Linked DNA regions of Homo sapiens: region 2 is linked to region 1. Evidence: promoter capture Hi-C in human tissues and cell types (Jung and others, 2019). All regions are on one chromosome and are shown on one strand. Each heading gives the region's core, a stretch centred on a gene start or on the middle of the fragment in contact. The rest is flanking DNA. Distances are from core to core; before and after follow the strand shown.

Region 1 (4,703 bases), core at 869-3,368:
AAGAACTAAGGGAGCTCAGGGAAAGTAGAAAGTTCCTTCTAATGGGGTGGCAGAAGAAAACAATGAACATTGACTAGTTTCCAGGGAGATGAGAAGTTCAAGTTGAAAGGAAGGAGGGAGAGGAATAAAGGCCCTCTGACTGCCTCTGAGCTGTCTGTTATGAAAATGCGCAGATCCCTGTGCATGTCAATGACAGCACTCAGAAAACTGTTGAGGAGAAGATGCAATTCGAGGGTGCCATTACATTCCTGAGTCTTCTACTTGAGTCTGCATATTCTAGGAGCAGGCAGGTGATGTGAACTGGCTGACAGAAATGACCCAGGACAGAAGTCAGAGGCCAGAGCTGATGAAGGAGATTCTGAACACAAACTTTACCATACAGGAACTGAATTTCTACCCTGGGATGCCTGGATCGTGTCCTAAGGTTGGTGGGAATTGCCTCTGCTTTTGTTGACATGACATTGGAGTCGTGAGAATAACTGCTGATAGTATGGGAAAGCACTTGGAGGATGAATGGTACCAGGGACTTAAGACCAGTGTGTGCAGGAATGCAAGAGTCCTGGCCCCAAATCCAAACTCTGTCAGATGCAGCTCACTGGGGACACTCACAAATTCTGGATTGTAGCAGATCATGCCCAGCTGCATATGGTTGTCCATGGTCTGGTTCTCCAAAATGTCCACACGAATCTTCTCCTCTTCTGTCTCCCCACCTGCCACCCACAAAACACAGACTCAATCTCAGCATCACAGCCCAGCCAAGGAGGAGGCCACCTTCCCCCCACACATTGCAGCCACCCACACTCACACAGGTTGTGCTTGCGGGCAATGTAGCACAAGATGGCGTTGCTCTGGGTGATCTTGTGAGCCCCATCAATCAAGTAGGGCAGCTGGATGGATGGGAAACCGGCGAAGCTCAGTTGGGCCACCAGGCTCCCCAGCATCCCCTTCCCATAAGCAAGAGCAGAGAGGAGACCGGGCACTCACTGTGCCTGCTCATGGCAGGACTGAAATAAGAATACTGTCACATGAACGAATGCAGGTGGACACAGAACATCATGGAAGGACTGTTTAGACAGCCAGGAGTGAGAGGAATTGGGCAGAAGACTCCTGATCTTAACACCTCTAAGCTGGGGAGAGGAGATGCAGTCAGAGACACGTTGCACTTTCCCCCAAAACCGCCCCTTCCCCTGCACCTACATTGGGAAAGTCCAGGCCCAGCTTGAATTTTTCATTCAGCCACTGGCTTCTGTCATAATCAGGAGCTGTGGTGGGGAAGAAGAAGTGAAAACAAACCTCCCCAGAGCCCAGCCCTCCTTCCCGGGGACCCTCCCACGGAGCCAGTGGCAAGATCCCTGAGACAGGTGGATCTAGAATCTGACCACTCAGTCCCACATCCCAGGGTTCAGGGACAAAGAATCCCGCTGAGGGCTCTGGACCCCACACAGCTAAGGCTTCCAGGGTTTAGGCAAGCCCTGAGGGACACCCGTCCCAATTAGACAGGGGGCCCAGCATCCCACCCCAGCATTCTGCCTTGCAAGGCCAGAGGGCTCCCTCACCGGGGCTCAGGGAAGAGACAGCCTGCAGCTCCAGCAGGGGAGGCCTGCAGAGGCAGCCACAGGTGGCCACCATGGGTTGCTTGGTGCCAACTTAGCGTGAGTGGGCAGAGCCCGAACACGAGGGTGCCATTACCGTCCCCCATCGTGTACTTCTTTTCCTCATAGCTTGAGTCTGTGTATTCCAGGAGCAGGCGGATGGCGTGGGCCAGCTGGGAGAGATGGCCCGCAGGTCGCGTCAGAGATGGAGGGTCCCTGACTTTGTCTGCACCAGGGAAGCCCCCAGTTTACACTGCACGTACCCGTTGCCTCCTCTACCCGCCCACACCCCCAACACACACACAGCGGCATGCACAGGCCCTTCTGAGGCGGGCAGCCCTGAAGAGGAACGGTCCCTAGAGTCCGTCCCGCAGCTGCTTCGCACTTCCCTCCCCTGCGCCCTCGTCCCACCGTCCAGCGGACCCTCGCTCACCCCGCGGATGTCCCAGTACCCCAGTATCATGGGCATGGTGCTGGTTGGTGCGGATTCCGCAGACAGGCCTAAACCGAGCAGGGCTCAGAGTATAAGAGCTCCGGAGAGGGGACAGGCGGGGCCTTGCTGCGACCCCGCCCCTCGGCCCGCCACAACCCGAAAGGCGCCATTCTGGAGGCCCGGGAGAGGGCGCCTGGGGCTGCACTCAGTAAGACTTCCTCCCGCCTCCCAGGCCCGAGGGTTCCGGGAGCGAAGTCAGGGCGCCCAGAAGCCCAAGGCGGGGCTCGGCCTCGCCAGCTTCCCTACCCAGCCCTGAGGCTCCACGAGTCCATCCAGCCCTTGCTAGGTCCACAGCGACTTGGCTGTGCGCTTGAGACACCAGCCAGATCCTAACGGAGCAAAGCTCTTCTCCCTTCTCCTCCCTGCCCGCGGTGTCCCTCAGCCTTCTCTCCGCTGCCGAGTTCCCAAGGGCTCTGGGAGACTCCGGCTGCAGGGGTCAGACTAAAAAGTGGTGGCCCCAACCTGGGAATTTAATTCAGCCCCTGTCACTGTAAGAGCAGGACTTCCTCTGATCCGAAAGCTACTCCCAGGGCTTAGTCTCCCCTCTAGCCCCGCCTACACAGGAACAGTGTCAGTGGTATAGGAAGGACCCCCAGGAAAAGGGCCAGAGTAAAGGAAATGTGGTCTGTGTTTTCTGTTAGGGGCCCTCGGGTACTGAGTCCTTCGGTCATCTGGCTAAGTACTGTGTAAATTAGCCACTTCGTATTTTGGCACAATTTATGAATCGAAATCCAAGGATCAGATCCAGCAAGTTGGTGAGGTATCTGAGGTGCCCCCTAGAAATGTCCAGCCAGTCCACTAGGTGAACCTCACAGAGACCGGAACAGCAACAGCAACAGTGAGTGCAGTGGCCACAGAGAGCAGGCGAGGGAGGATGGAAGAACTTCCCGGACCAAACTGAGGGTCCGGCTGCTATTTCTCTAGGCCCAATAACGAGATGCAGATCAAATGGGGAGGAAGAGAGGTTTTATTTCTGCAACCGGTAACAGGGAGAAGGCCTAGAAATTACCACCAGACCAACTCAATATTACAAAGTTTTCCAGAGCATATATACCTTCTAAGGTATATGTCTACAAGTAAGTGTGCATTCATCTAAAGACATAAGTGATTAACTTCTTTAATCTGTAACTGAGGTCTGGGTCCTGAGGACCTTATTCTGGAGCCTCAGTCTATTTATTTAATCTAAATGGGTCCAGGTGCGGGGGATGATTACCCTTATCTTGTCTCCTGCTAAATCACGGAGGTTTGGGGAGTTCCTTCAGACGCCCAATAAACTTGTTTGTGGAGGCCTGGGGAGTTTCTTCAGACTCACAATAAAACTTGTTTAATTCTAAATAGGTCCTGTTAAGAATTCCTTCATTGTTTTGTCATGCTTTAAGGCCCAGGAAAGGCCTAAGCAAAACTCTTGGTGGGCTTTTGTTACATCCAGCCTCTGTATAAAGGTACTGGCTTTTTTCAGCTTTTAATATTTAACTTCACCACTCAGTCAGTACTGAAACAGTTGTTATGGAGGCCTGTGTTAGTGACGCCTGGCCTGCCACAGAACCTGTCCCTCAGAGAAGCCAGAACCCTGTCCTGCTGAGGAGGGAGGTCAGAGGATGGTGGCCAGAGAGGAGCCTGAGGGCTCCCCACAGGACCACAGGCAGGGACCCTCCCCTCTCCAGATCCACCATTCCGGACCTGGACCTGGCTCCTGACCCATGTGTGTTCTTCAGTATGAGACGGTGGCTCCAGTGGCCTTTGAAGTCACACCGTGATATGTGACCCATGGTACAACCTCCACGAGAACAATGTCCAACCTGCCAACTTTCTTCTTTCAAGGTAGAAGGAAGACTTTCAAAAGAGTTGTGCAATGGATTAGCCTGGGGTTGACTGCTTTAAAGGATATTGCAAATAATAATGGACATATGGAAATAGATGATAGACCTTTAATGAGAAATCATTTTGCAATGTAAACCAGGCTGTTGTGCTGCAAAAAAAGTAGTTTTTTTGTTTTGTTTTGTTTTGTTTTGTTTTGTTTTGTTTTTTGTAAATTAGCTAAAACATTGTTAGGACTCCAGAGGATGAACCCAGTATATCAAAAAAGTTTCAAACCACCTGGATAATGTGTGGTTTGGGGTTGAGTAAACAGGTAGACTTCATCACATCCCTATTAGGCCACAGAAATCAGGTGGTCAGCAGGTGGCTGCTAAGTTGGGGCACTTGGACACTGTGTCACTGAGGCTGGCAAGGCACAGTCCTTGTTGCAAACACTCCCCGCCCATCCAGACCTGGGCAGTACTCCCAGCTCAGATACCTGGCAGGTATCCATGTTTAGGAAGCAGTTTTGGCCTCACAGTGAACTCTTACATAGATTTTCCTGCATTGAGGCAATAGCACCAGCACAGACACAAGTGCCTGGCCCTAGGAAACATTATATTTCTCATTATGCATTAAGAGTTTATGATTCTGAGTTAATCCGTCTTGAGCTGTGAAAGATAAGATGTCTAGATCCAATTGAAAAAAAAAACGATTTTTTAAGAAAGCTAACACTCATGAGAATAATAATTTTGAAACACATAGAACCAGTACTGTTACATTAGTATTGTTTGAAATACTTGTTCCTTGGTGCCATAAAG
Region 2 (4,703 bases), core at 942-3,441, 550 kb before region 1:
TCCTCCTTCCCCTCCTCTGCCCCTCCCCCTTCCCTACCTGCTTTTTCTCTCCCTGCTCCGCGGGCTACTGCTCCTCTCTCTGCCACTCTCCCTTCTCCCTCTTCCTCCTCTTCATCTTCCTCTTCTCAGCTTCTGAGATCTGCTTTCAGTCTTCCCCTGTGCTTCCTCTCACCTCCCTGCCTCCTTTAATCTCATTCCCAGGAGCTCACAGGTGTGTGTGGAAAGGACTTGGGGCAGCTCCTGGCCCCAGCAGGTCCGGGAAGCAGGTTAGAGAGAGGAATGGAAGGTGGGGCTGAGGTGCCCACGTGCAGGGAGCAGCCTTTAGAGCCAGCAGCTGTGTGGGTCTCCGTCTGGCTTCTCACTGCTTCGGGAAGCAAGCACACAGGTGTCACCACTTCTGGGTCGCTAAGGCGGAAATGGTCATGACAGTGAGTTGTCTCATGAGCACTGGTGTCCCAAGGCCCTGCCTCGAGTTGGACCTGCCTCCATCCTCTCAGTCCACAGTGAGAGGCCCTAGCAAGGAATTTCTGGAAAAGGACTTCTAGTGCTTCTGTTGTGCTCAGGCCTGCCAGGCAGGGTCTGTCAGTGTCAATAGGGAAGGACACACACTGAGCACTGTTTACTGCCTGGGTCTAGAGCCACTTCACATATCCCACCTCCATTTACTCCTCTGGGCAAAATCTGGAGATGTTTCCTTCTCTCCATTTCACAGACCATGCTTAGAAAGGTTAAGTCATTTGCCCAAGGTCACGCAGCTCACAAGTGGCAAAGCCAGTGGAGCCAGAATTAGCAATCTGGCCGTGGACCAGAAATCGATGGCAGTGGTGGTGCTGGTGCCAAGGGGCTGGCCACAGAGCCAGTGTAGAAGCATGGTCAAAATCGCCTGTGAAATCTATCTGTGAGATCTCCATCAAATTACTCTCCAGTTTCCTCACCTGTAAAATGTGAGTGATAAAAAGAGCCCTTACCTCCTGGGGCTGCTCTGATCCATTAAGCCATGTAGGGGGCTTGGGCTGGTCGTAAACACTCAATCCACGTTAGCTATTATACCTTCCAGAGGCACCTGCCCTCTGACTCTGGAGGAACACCCAAGTCCTCGACAGAGAGAAAGCCAGAAGAATGATAATCCCTTGCCTCCAGTGGTGCTTCAGGAGTTCCAAAGGACCCATCCATCCACTCTCATTTAATTATCATCCCACCTTGGATGAAGGCAGGGGAAGCTTAATTCCCATTCACAGATGTGGAACCTCAAGCCCAGCAACAGCGTGGGATTGGCTCAGACCCCTCTGGAAACAACCCTTGCCAGCCTCTTTTTCTATGTCCACTTATGTAGCAGGAGTTTCATCCAAGAGCACAAACCTGAGCACCTAACTAGCACTCGGAGAGTTGGGGTGGGTGGGAGGCTCACAGAACACCACTAATGAAGACTGAGAAGGAAGCAGACGGAGGGAGAAAGGACCCAGGATATAGCCCCCCCCGCTGTTCCAAGTTAACTGTGATGTAAATTGAAGCTACTAACATCAGGAAAGAAAGGCCCAGATGGCTGAAGCCTGGAGAGTTGAGGGGAAATGGGGAACTTTGGAAGGGAGTACTGATGGTGAGGGTGGCGTGGGTGAGAGGAGACTTGGCTGGCACATGGTGGTGGGATGGCAGAGTGAGAGGTCCAGCATCCCGGATAATTATTCTGGACAAATCTTACAACCCAACCATGGACTAGAATGACAGGGGTGAAGGGCAGAAGTCAGCAGAGGGCAGCTAATTCATTCACTCCTTACTCATTCACTCATTCCTTTGTTCACCTTTGAGCTCCTGACCACTGAGCAGGGGCTGGAGGTAAAAACATTAATAAGGAAAGCATCCATAAATGAGTAAACAAGCAACAAGTTATCACTGCAGTAAGTGCTATAATGGAGGAATATTCAAGGTTCTGTGAGAGCATAAAGGACAGAGGAATTCTACCTGGGAGAGCCCAGGAAGGATTCTCAGAGGTGACAGTTGAGTGGGCCTTGAGGGATGAGTAAGAGTTTGCCAGGCTGAGGACACAATAGTAGAATGTAAGAGGGGAGCACAAGGAGCAGGAAGATCTTCCAGACAGAGGCAGCCTCCATTGCATATCACTTTGGATTTCTCTTTTGCGCTCCACGTCCTTCTTTGTTAATTGGAGTCAGGCCAGAATTCCTTGTAGAGCTCTGGCCCCTAATTTGACCCACACAGGAAGTTTTGGATTTCTTCCTCTCCTAATCGAAAAAATTATCTATCCTGCTTGGAGCTCTCTGGTGCTAGGACTTCCTATCACAGAGAACAAGGCTGTCACTCCACAAGTTGAGAGAAGGTCAACAGTCCTATCTCCTGGGAAATAAAATATACATGGACCCTAAATTCATACTAGAGTGCTGATGACTGACACAAAATACTTTCTTGTGCATAGGTCAGAAAATGAAGAGAGCAGGACGACTCTGGAAATGTGTGTTTATGTTTAGGTGCCAGTATGTAAGGGGACAGTAGTTAGCAAGAGCCTCTGGCAGGGGTGGGAAAGAACCCAAGCAGAAAGATAGAGAGTATTAGAGAGCAACTTTCCAGTCCTGTCCAGGGAAACCCAGCTTGTCACCACCTAGCACCGAGGCCCAGAGGGAGCCTGGTATCACTGGAGCCTTCTTACCTCCCTGCTGCCCTCAACATCCCGCCCCCAGGCGCCCTGGGAGCTGGTTGCCATCTCTAGTGGGGTGCTGACAGAAATGAGGTCCCTAATCAATTTTCCAGGGGGGCAGTGTCATCCCCTCAGGGGAAGAGCGGGTCCTGGGGCAGACAGCGGGATGCTGCCGGGGTGTTGGAAGGGGGCTGATTGTGACTCCTGTTCCCTGGTACTGTGGCTGCCTGGCATGGTGAGAGGATAGCACAGACTGGTCTCTCGGCAGCCTAACTAGGAGGGAGGCCCCAGGAGCAGCTTTGCTGTGGTGGCAGCCCTGGTGGTGGTGGTGGTCGTCGTGGTAGTGGCACAGCTCTGCCTCCCATGGCAGCTTAGGAGCCACCACCCCAGGGAGGGTCACTGTGGCAACAGCTACTCTGGGAACAGATCCTCCGGGCCTCTGAGGCTGGCCCCTGGTCTTCTCGAGGGGCAGCTGGCAGGCCTGTGCCGGGCGTGGGGAGGAGGCAGGGCACCTGTCTCTGAGCCAAGCCTCTGGGGCCCCAGGGCTGAGGCAAGGAGGAAAGGTGGTGTTTGTTTTCCTTTGTTTGCTATGAACATTTGATCACTGATGCTGGATTTGGAGTTAATCGTCCTTGGATCAGGGGCTCAATATGAGGAGCTGAGGGGAGGGGAGCTGAGGGGAGTCTCTAGGGATCTCAGGGATGGAGCTGGGCCTCAGGTTAAGGAATCCTGGGCTCTCGTCCCTGCAGAAGTCTCTTCAGGAGCAGTCTCTCCTGCTCCGGGCAGCCTGGGGTCTGAGCTGAGTTCAGGGTGCCCTTGGTGTCAGTGGCAGGCTGGAGGAACCCTGCTGTCCCACCTAAGGCTGGGGCAGGCCTGGGAGGCTCCGAGTCCAGGAAGACTGGAAGGAGTGGGGTAGGGTGCTGGCTTGAGGTGGACACCGGGCCAGGGTTCTCTTTCCCCGTTTCCCACTCCCTGACCTCACTTCCCTCCCTCTGCTTCTTCACTCTTCATCAACCCCTTTGCCCCTCCCTCCTCTTCCTCTTTCCTTCTTTCTCACTCTTCCTTCTTACTCATTGCTTCCTTTCTCACCATATCCTTCATTCACTTCAACATTTCGCTGAGCACCTACTCTGCATGGACCACTAAGCTAGGCCCTCGAGTGGGAGCTGGGATGAACCAGCACCTCTGAGCAACTCGCCACTGTGGGAAGGGGAATTTGACAAGTACCAAAAAGTACCAGGTAGAAAATGGTAGGTTCTAAAAGGAAGAGAGAGGAAGGGCTATGGGAACTCTCTCTCCAAGGCTTCCTCATTATTCTGACAGTTTCTCAGGCAGGAAATGCATAATGTAAAAAGAAGAGCGTTCATGTTATTCCCCAAGGACTCCCAGGAATGCCCTAGAAATGAGGTGCAAAAGCCAGCTGGAGACAGCTTGCGAGGAATAAGAGAGGATGGAGTTCAGCAGCTGCTCATGCCAGGCCTATCTCCAGCCCATTCATTCATTTGTTCATAAAATATTTACCGAGCCCCTATAGGCCCTAGCAACTTACAGGGAAGCAGGCAATACACAATTCATAGTTACAAAGGACTGTAAGTACCATGAAGAAAATGCACTGGCTGCAGTGATGGAAACTGACAGAGGCAGAGGGGCGTGGATGTGTGAGGGGAAAACGCCTCACCAAGAAAGTGAAATTTACAGCCAGGCCTTCTCAGCCAAGAGAAGGAGGTGGGGTGGGGCTGGACTGGGGTGAAGTGGTCCCCGTGAGGGAAAAGCAAGTGGAAAAACACTGAAGGTGAGAGAGCTGGGGATGTGTGGGAAACTGACAGGAAAGTGAGCTGCTGGTCTCAGGGGCTGAGAGCAGGGGCATGAATAGGTCTGCGGAGGCAGGAAGGCCATGAGGAGCAGCAGGGCATCACAGGCCCTCCTAAGGAGTCTGGATTGTACACGAAGTGGGAACCCAGCCATTGACAGGGTTCTAAGCAGGGGTGACATGATCTGATCCAGTTTCCATTTTAAGAAGCTCTCTCTCTGGTGACTGGGTGGAGACTGGTGGCAG

What was found. Contacts are between HindIII fragments. The study calls those that stand out against the background at their distance.
Region 2: a fragment that was not itself captured here is called in contact with the fragment with the promoter of GSTM1 in region 1 in 2 of the 25 tissues and cell types used here (aorta and small bowel).

What each region holds. Positions count from the first base shown.
Region 1 is chr1:109,685,232-109,689,934 of GRCh38, reverse strand. GSTM1 (glutathione S-transferase mu 1) reads right to left here and starts at 2,118. Exons shown (of 8, transcript NM_000561.4): 1 at 2,026-2,118; 2 at 1,690-1,765; 3 at 1,198-1,262; 4 at 806-887; 5 at 610-710. The coding sequence starts at 2,061. RefSeq lists an enhancer at 2,019-2,068. The HindIII fragment of the contact is 14,943 bases long and covers 1-4,703 here.
Region 2 is chr1:110,239,030-110,243,732 of GRCh38, reverse strand. It overlaps a transcript of KCNC4 not described here. Among named protein-coding and RNA genes, the nearest start is that of KCNC4, 31 kb to the right of the region's middle. The HindIII fragment of the contact is 5,191 bases long and covers 1-4,703 here.